Linked DNA regions of Homo sapiens: region 1 is linked to region 2. The links are contacts of gene promoters, found by promoter capture Hi-C in human tissues and cell types (Jung and others, 2019). All regions are on one chromosome and are shown on one strand. Each heading gives the region's core, a stretch centred on a gene start or on the middle of the fragment in contact. The rest is flanking DNA. Distances are from core to core; before and after follow the strand shown.

Evidence for each region. The method cuts DNA at HindIII sites, captures the fragments that hold promoters and counts their contacts. A contact is called where the count stands out against the background at its distance.
Region 1: a contact is called between a fragment that was not itself captured here and the fragment with the promoter of FAM171B in region 2, in 1 of the 25 tissues and cell types used here (pancreas).

What each region holds. Positions count from the first base shown.
Region 1 is chr2:186,727,732-186,732,720 of GRCh38, reverse strand. The region is part of intron 1 of FAM171B (family with sequence similarity 171 member B); the gene reads right to left. Among named protein-coding and RNA genes, the nearest start is that of FAM171B, 36 kb to the right of the region's middle. The HindIII fragment of the contact is 6,804 bases long and covers 1-4,989 here.
Region 2 is chr2:186,691,166-186,696,002 of GRCh38, reverse strand. It overlaps FAM171B (family with sequence similarity 171 member B), which reads right to left and starts at 1,943. Exons shown (of 8, transcript NM_177454.4): 1 at 1,592-1,943. The coding sequence starts at 1,829. RefSeq lists a silencer at 1,780-2,139. The HindIII fragment of the contact is 10,077 bases long and covers 1-4,537 here.

The DNA of each region.
Region 1 (4,989 bases), core at 1,064-3,563, 36 kb before region 2:
GCAGGCCACTGCACATGCAGACAGCCCACTCCGCAGGAAGAATCACAGAAGTAAAGCAACCCTGGAAGCTGCCAACACATAAGACCCCAAGTCAAAAATCAAACCGTGCATTTGAATCTCAAGTTGCCTGCTTGACCCTCTTCCACATGCACTTTACTTTTGTTCCTGCTCTAAAACCTTTTAATAAACTTTCATGCCTGCTCTAAAACTTGCCTTGGTGTCTCTCTGCCTTACACCCGTCAGTTGAATTCTTTCTTCTAGGAAGGCAAGAACTGAGGTGGCTGCAGACCCATGTGGATTCACCACTGCCAACACCACGAAGGACTCCAAAGCCATCTTGGAACTATGGAACAGTGGGGCTTGGGGTGACACTACTAAATTAACTCAAGTAATATATGATTGCAATCATCATTGAGAACTTAAATTCTTATAAAACATCAATTAAAAAGAAAAAGCACCCCCTGGCCATATACACACATACTCATGCCAAACCATGTCCTCAAACTCAAATGGAAAATATAACACTTGGGTTTAAAAAACAACAAAAAAAAGTTATAATAGTAAGATATATCAGTGCCTCCCAACCTTTTTGGCACCAGACTCTGGTTTCAGAGAAGACAATTTTTTCATGGACCACATTAGGGGATAGTTTCAGGATGATTCAAATGCATTACATTTATTGTGTACTTTATTATTATTACATTGTAATATATAATGCAATAATTATACAACTCCCCTCAGCGGGAGCCCTGAGCTTGTTTTCTTGCATCTAGATGGTCCCATCTCAGGGTGATGGGAGAGAGTGACAGATCATCAGGAATTAGATTTTCATAAGGAGCATGCAACCTAGATCCCTCACATGCTCAGTTCAAAATAGGGTTCATGCTCCTATGAGAAACTAATGCTGCCACTGATCTGACAAGAGGTGGAGCCCAGGCCATAATGTGAGTGATGGGGAATGGCTGTAAACATAGATGAAGCTTCACTGACTCACCCGCCGCTCACATTCTGCTGTGAGGCCCAGTTCCCGATAGGTCTCAGTATCTGTATCTGTCTGTGTCCCAGGGGTTTCAGACCCGATATATATGACATGATGGGCTTTCTTGGATAAGTAGTTGGATAGTATAAAAAACTATAAGTGTAGAGAAAAAGTAGCTGCTGCTCAATTTGAAATAATTCTCTCAGCCACCCAGCCCCTAATCCTTCAGTCAAAATTTACCGAGCCACTAGCATAAAGCACCCAACTAATATAAGCCAGATAGATTCTATCAGGACCTCAAAATGTGAATACAGTTACAGAGATGCTAATGGTTGCTGGAACTGAATTACCTTGGAAAGTCTATGAGGCCTTACCATTGTGCTTTCTAGTGCTTCCCTAGTCCCTCTCCTTCCAGAAGCTGGGTTGTGCAGCCCTTCCAGCTGATCTGTGAACTACATAATAATCTTTCCTAGAAAGCCCTTTCATTTCTTGTAGCCAGAGTTTGTTTCTGTTGCTTGCTCCTTAAGTAAGCACATTAAATATGTACAACTGTAAATAAAGGATACTATTTACTAGGCCACTATTTTATAGACATTGATACCTGTTACAGAATGTGAAGGAATTAAGGATAATGTTGAGTACCAAAAACATGATAAACCGCATGAGAGACAAACTGAACATAACTAACTCATAAGGGAATTAGGATCTCTATTCCAATTCAATAACAGATCTTATTCAAACCAAATGTACCTACAATGGCTCCTTCAACAGCATATTCAATAGGGAATTTTTATTAATTCATTTGTTTCAAAGTTCAATTTCAGAGATTCTCAGAGCCTTTGGATTTACAGATAAATCTCAATGTGTGGTAAGATCTTAAGCTAAATTCGCAAAAGAAAAAAAAAACTGCATATTCCATCTGTTTCATCCTTGTAAAAGTACAGTTGCCAAAATAAGACACACTAAAAACCCTCCTGACATTCTGAAGCTGGATTTGATTTATAAAATGTTTTCTAAAACGTTTTCTAATCCAGAATGGATGATTTTATTTTTTTCACATGCAATAATGTTAATATAAATCTGATAAGAAAATATCATATTTAGAAAAAAATAGATTTGCAAAGGTCAAGTCTTGATGATCCAAATCATAATCTCCCTCTCTGATGAGATCACCTATATCTATATCTTAAAGTGCTTAGTAGACTTAGTGCATAATACAGGCCTGACTAACAGGGTCCTCTCTAGCTCAAAATGGAAACAACTGACTTGCAGTTGTTTCCTCCTTAATGCCACTCAGTTAGAGCTGACATAATAAATTACAGGTTTTATACATACATACATACATGTTTACTTGTGTGACACACACACATATACAGCCCAGTGCTGGAAACTTTACACATATTGTCCAATTTCATCCTAATACACACCTGTAAGACATTTCCCAATTTTAAGGCAAGGAAATTGAGATTAAAACTGCACAGCTGGCCAGGTGTGGTGGCTCACGCCTGTAATCCCAGCACTCTGGGAGGCCAAGGCAGGTGGATCACGAGGTCAAGAGATTGAGACCATCCTGGCCAACATGGTAAAACCCTGTCTCTATTAAAAATACAAAAATTAGCTAGGTGTGGTGGCACGTGCCTGTAGTCCCAGCTACTCAGGAGGCTGAGGCGGGGGAATTGCTTGAACCCAGAGGCGGAGGTTGCAGTGAGGTGAGATCGTGCCACTGTACTCCAGCCTGGCTAGAGTGAGAGAGAGAGACTCTGTCTCAAAAACAAACAAGACAAAACAAAAAACAAAAAACGAAAAACTGCACAGCTAATAAGGTTATAGCCAGGATTCACAGGCAAGTCCCTCTGACACCAAGTCCCATGTACCACATTAACTCTTATTGAAAAGCATTAGGGATTTGGTTTTCATCATATTTACTAACTTATTTTCTCACAACCAATGCTCAGAAGGAAATTCTCATTCACTGACTCTCTGAGCCTCTTCTCCCCATCCTCAAACTTGGTTTGTCTCTCACCCTAGCACAAGCCACAGCAAAAGCAGCATTTAAAAAACAAAACAAAACAAAACAAAAAAAACCTCAGCTGAAAGCCTGGTCAAAGTAATTAATGAGGTATGAACAACTCTTTTCTATTTCAAGTAAAAGGAAAAGTTATAAAGAATTAGCTGCTTATGACTTAAACGGGATGCTTCTGATTTCCATGGTGTCAACAGCTTGATCAAGCAAGCAGCACAGTCAGCCAGAAGCAATATATATCCCTAATAATCCTCTACCAGTTCTCTCCTCCAGAAAAAAAAAAATACTTTGGCATTTAGACAGGGCAGATTCCATGATTAAATATCTGATTTTCAGCCGGAGGTGCTTTTGTCTACCTACCCTTCTCCAGTGTATTTTTTTAGCTTTCAATGAGCATATTTATTTTCTCTGTCACTTAATTATAATCATTATGTCTTGCCCACATAATCATCTTTTCAACATATCACTATTCGTTTTAAAATGGTTCAGTATTAAATGATTCAACTGCACCCTTAGAAAACATATAATCTAAATGTTGAGAAAAACCAAGTAAAAATAAAATACGTATCAGTGAGCTAGGTCCTGAGGTTGCTGGAGAAGATTTAACTATTTAGCAGATGGTTACAAGCATCGTTAAGTAGTGAGAATCACTAAAATTCAAATAATAATAAATAGGTATAAAGGAATATTCTAGAAAAAAATATTAAAACCAATACTATATTATGGTTTTCCTATGGAATACAAATAGGTAACTAAAAGTCCAAAAGGGCTTTAAAAATACTGCTAACTATATATATTTGGGTGACATTTACGTCTTTATGTAGGTGGGCTGAAAATATCACAATCCCACTTCTTTTCAAGAGACTCTGACATCATCCTATTATGTTGTCACCATTATGTAGGTTACAACTATACACATGGAGAAGCCACCTCATTTTCAGATTTATCCAGTACAAAAACTCACCTACTTCGTTTCCATTATGTTTCAAAAGCAAGTATCTATAATAATTTCATTTCATATGCTACAACTTAATCTCCTATAGGAATACATTGCTAAAATAAAAAGATTTTATAAACAGACTATAGGTCAAATTTTTAAAACAATATTTTAATGGGATAAATTCAAAATTTTTATTGAGTTTTATGTATCCTGAGAACTAGGAAAAATGAAGAACACAAAAATATAGTGGAATAAAATAGTTGGTTGGAAACAATAGAAATGTTCATTTACATGAATCCATTCAACAAATGTTTACTGATTACCTACTTTTCCTCAGATCTGCACGAGATGGGGATTGGGGATACAGACAGCAATAGAAAACAGACTTTCCTTGATGTATAATTCTGAGAGGAAACAACACGTGAAGAAAAATACAGAATTTCTGATATTACAATAAAGGAGGTAGAAAAGCAATATTGAAACAGACAAGAGAACTTCCTATAGTATCTAACACAATTTTCTAGAAATTATGTAGAAATTAATTTAGAATATGTATAAAAATTCCTCTAAGTATCAAAAAATGACACTAATATCTACTTTGCTATCAGTTTACACTATCATTTTTTTAACAGAAAGAATGTCAACATTTTGAGTCCAGATCATCTGAGGGCCTGCCCATGAATTCTCACCTATTTTTCATGATCTGACTTTTCTGTGGAGATGTTGTGGTAGGAACCCAAAAGATACCAGGCTTCTGCTTATCTCCCAAATCAGGCTTCTTTGGGGTCTATTCAGAGGCCTAGTTTGCTCTCTACCCACCATTTTCACACAAAATATTCAGCTACCAAGAAATCTTAGTTTAGAGGTAGGTATACCTGTAAACTATATCTATATAAATATAATATAGATACATATAACTACATATATAAATATCTGAAGAAATCTGGTTCCAAATTTAATTCCAAATTTAAATGTCCATGTATTTAAACCATTAGTAGAAACATAACCATCATGGTTTCACTAAACATAATATCAATTGTTTTCTAA
Region 2 (4,837 bases), core at 694-3,193:
TATATATTACAGTAGTCAAAATTCATTTAATATTCCTGAAAGGTCCATTGAAATAAAAATATACTGCAAACCATAAAACCCACCAACACTCTCCCAGACTTCGGCTTCATAGTGAATTTATGAAATATCTCTATTAATGAGGCCAATCAATCTGATATATCCAATTTCCTTAACTTTAGCGAACAGTATGTCTAACAGCAGCCTCACCCAAACCATATTATCACTTTCAGTTATTAAAAGCTGGGTAGGAAAACCACCATACACTGTATACCTTTCAAGACTTTTAGCCACACTTGAGTGTTATTAATTGGTTTAAGAGGGTGTCAGAAACACATGCTTTCCTGCACACTTTGGTGATTTCATCCTATGCTCAGAGCACTCTGATAAATTAAATCATCCTGGCTGTGTCATGAATCGCAGCTGGCATGCCTGTGTACTGCTTTTTGACGATGAGCAAGCAATACAAAATGTGATGCTGATTCCACTCTTTCAAATCTCATTTTCAGCACTCATATAGTGTTACCAGGCAGGATTTTAAAACAAAAACAAACGTCATAATAAAATTCACTTTGGTTTCACAAAACCTAAGCCCTCGTGCCAGAAAATTGGAGGCTTTTTTTCTTTCCAAATAGCAGACAAGAATCTACAGCCATGAAGCGAAGTGGGTTGCGGGGTAGGGAGATGCAATATACATGGATAATCTAGCTATTTGCTTACCGATGGAGCTTTAATGGGGGGAAAGAGGGAGGAACTGCGGAACTGTTACAGCCACCTATACTACAGCCGTATTTCTACACCTTCACTGAACAGTGTCAAGAATCTGCCTCATTTAAGTTCTACTAACAAGTAAGGAGATTTCTCTCTCTAGGGATAGGCTTTTGCTGTTCTAACACCACTCCAGACTTCACCTTATGTGTCCCCCTCTCCTTTTCCCTTTCCTTCAATTACAAACTCCTGTTTTGTTTTGCTTCATCTTATTGTACTAAAAGAGTTCTTTGCAATAAGATGAACCCTTAAACCCTTCCTGGGGTAAAGAGAAAGAGAAATAAATAATAAAATATATAAAGATTTCTCTCTTCATGGCTAAATTTAAATATAGCAGGCATGGAGAAATGGTGAAAAGGGGTGTGTGGGTGTCCATGGCAAGATTTCTCAGTCTCTAGGAGAGAAAAGGATAGAGAACAAAATGTTTAAGGGATTTAAGAACGGTGTGTGTGTGTGTGTGTGTGTGTGTGTGTGTGTGTGTGTGTGTGTTACAGTCATTCCCAGGGCAGAGGGTAGAATTCAGGAAGAAGGGAGGGAAAAGAAAAAGATCAATCCAGGCAGTCACCCACCCCCAGCCTTCCCGACCCCTCTCCAACCCACCGCAGTGCTCTGAGCTGCTCAGAAAGCTCATTACCCGGAGGGCAGATTCCCGACACCAGATCAAGGGACCAAAGGCTGGGCAGCCAGTCTGGGGAGAGAGATCGGGAGGGATGGTGACAGGAACGAACGAGGATAGGAATGGATAGGGAAGGGGCGAGGAAGCCGGCGAGGCCCTAAGAGATCGCCGGCCGAGACTGAAAGACCGGGCTGGGCAGCCAGGACCTACCTGGAACCGTCAAGGTGGAGGTTGCCCCAGGCACCTCTGTCCTCTCCTCCTCAGCCTCCTCCAGCTGCTTTTGCTGTTGTTGTTGTTGTTGCTGCTGCTGCTGCTGCTGTTGGATGAGGCTGAGGTCGGAGCGGCTGAGTTCCGCTCTGGCGGCCGCGGGGACCAGCCGCGCTTTCAGCAGCACCACGGCCAGGCCGAGAAGCAGGGTGCAGGGGACACGCCGGCAGAGCCTCGCCATGGCCTAGAGCCAGAGGGCCGCGGCGGCATATTGCGGGGCTCCGGGCGGCGGCGGGCGCCAGGGCTGCGGGCTCCTGGCAGCGCCCGCTCGCTCGCTCCCCCTCGCGCAATCTGCCAAGCACTCCCTCACCGGCAGGAGGAAGAGGCCCGGGAGGCGGAGGGGGCGGAGGAGGAGGGAAGGGGAGTTCGCATCCTCGCGCATGTGACGCGCGGGGAGGGGCGAGCCGGGGCCCGCGGTCCCGCGCCCCGCAGCCACCTGGGGCCAGGCTGCTCCGAGAGGACGCGATGCTGGGGCTGCAGCCCGGGTGGAGGGCCCTAGGGGAAACAGAAAGGGGAGGCCTTCTGGGAGCTGGTAGACCCTCACAGCGTCCACTTCCCACTGAGGCACCGGGAAGATTTGCAGAGAGTGGAATAAAATTCCTTCCACCTGAGCCCAAAGTAGCAGAGAAGGTGGTATATTGATTACCCCCATCCAGCACATAGCGTGGGTGGCACCAACGGATCAAAAAGCCAGGATCTCAAACAAATAGGCTTTGCTGCATCACCGCCATCATTGCTTAGCTAGAAGTTAAACTGCAGCGCGCCAGATTTTGACTAAACTTCTTTTCTCTGCCCTAGTGGGAATTTCTTTCCATATCATTAAATATTCTTAATTACATTTTATCTAATTCTAGCCTATCCTTTTCATTTGTTCAAAAAAATCTTACTAAATACTAGTTGCTTACCATGTGCCAGCATTTCTTCAGGTGCTTGGAATAAGTAAAATACAATCCCTGCATTCCAGGAGCTCAACATCTATTAGGGGAGAGGAACACAGGAACAAATTAGAACCCAATGTGGTGGCTACAAACAGAAAAGCAATACAAGTCCAGAGGTCTCAGAATTGGAAGAAAATATCTTGTGTATGTAGGGGCTATGAAACACCAGGAGAGGTAGAATATAAAAAAGAGTAAGACTTCCACACAGGAGAAATCAGGAACGTGGAAGAGTGTGTGTGTGTGTGTGTGTGTGTGTGTGTGTGTGTGTGTGAAGCCCAGATGTGTGTAAGCACAGTGGGCTTGCAAAAGTGTGAGCAATTATTCTAATGGAGGAATGACAGTGTTTTAGATTGAAAAGGAGAGTGGAGACCAGGTCATTAAAAAAATAATAATAACAAGCATTTCTATAGTACTTACTGTGTGCTCAAGTACTTCACATTTGTTAACTTCTGTAATAAACTTAGATGCTGTATACAGAAATTGAAATTCACACAGTAGATGATAATGAAAGAAATTAATCAGGGAAGAAACTTGCTACCAGTTGTGCATTTTAGGAGGATCACTTTGCTCTCAGTATGGCAGATGGATTAAAGGGGGATAAATTGGAAGAGAAGATGCCAGTTTAGAGGTGTTTGCCAAAACCCATAGGAGATGCCAAAGGTCATTGAAACTGAAAAGGAGAAGAAAAGAGTAGGAGACACAGTATATAAGACTACAATAAACAGATACGGTTAATTGGAAGAGGAGGAGATATGCCTAGTGTGACACCTAAATTGACAAATTGAGATCTTAGGTGGCTGCTTATGACCTTATCAACATTAACTGGCCTAGAGTAATGAGCCCTGCCTTGTTCAGTTGTGGTCTCTTTGTATTTGGAGTAACTGTGGGACATCTCATAGTGCAATATAAATGTCACCTGCTGTGACATCACCCCATTTACCATTGTAGTTCATTGTCCTTTTCCACCCTTATCATTCTTACCTTGTCCCTCCCAGTGTTTTCAATATGCTGGAAAACAACAAACTTCTCAGTACTGGAAAAGTATTTTTTGGTTAAGCAAATGAAAATAGTGTATATATAACTAATGGTTTAGATGTTTTGTCCTTTCCAAATCTCATATTGAAATGTGACCTCCAATGTTGGAGGTGGGGCCTAGTGGAAGGTCTTTGGTTCATAGAGGAGAATCCCTCATGAATGGCTTGGTGCCCTCTTCATGGTAATGACTGAATTCTTGCTCTGAGCTCACAAGAGATCTGGTTGTTTAAAAGTGTGGCAACTCCCTTCTCTCTCTCGCTTGCTCCCTCTCCTGTCATGTGACACGCTGTCTCCCTTTCACCATCCACCATGATTGTAAGCTTTCTAAGGTCTCACCAGAGCAGATGCCAGCACCACACTTGCGTTGTACAGCCAGCAGAACTGACCTAAAGTAAACCGCTTTTCTTTATGTCACCCGAAGTTTACTGCAATGCAAATGGACTGACACAATAACCATAAATAAAATAACAGTAGGTATTTTGCATCTATTATCTCATTATATCTTCAGAGCATCTCTACAAATTAGCTCTCATTATCCTATTTAGCAAATGGAAACACTGGAGATCAGAGAGGCTCCATGTCTTGCCAGAGGCTACATTTACAGTGTGTGACTTTACCTTTCTGCACCGTTTGAGACTTCTGCTATGAGTTTGTATTGCTTTTTTAGTGATTTTAAAACAAAAATAAGGTATGTGGACCACATAATTTTGGGGAAAATAGATACTAAAGTGAGGCCCCTCACACTAAACATCATTCTTCCATCAGGACTTTCTTTCCCTGGTCTGTGTGAGGCAGGAGCCATTGGGGGAGGGGGCTCCAGAGCTGAAGGCAGCAAGTTTCCATTAGTTTCATCAAGCTGTTTTTATGGCAATCTCTTCCAAGTTACCTCTGCTCCTGGAGAGAAGAAAGGAGAAAATGGAAATGGCTCCAAAAACCTGACTGGTGGATCAGAAGGAAAGGAATGCAGCCAGGATTTCTGTCATCCTGCCTTGGGGTAGCCAAGTTATTTTTAATATAGTAGAAGCAGACCTTCTGGAGGCAAAGCCACTGGGTCATGGACCCTGGTAGAGGGTGGACCTCAAATCTTTCAATACTATGGACTGTTTTAAGAGGTAAGTGTTGTCAATCAAGAGTATTTAAATAGTTTTTAAGTGCTTCATTATTCGTGTAGTTCATGCTTAATTTCTGTGCAATATAAAAAAGCCATATTATCCGA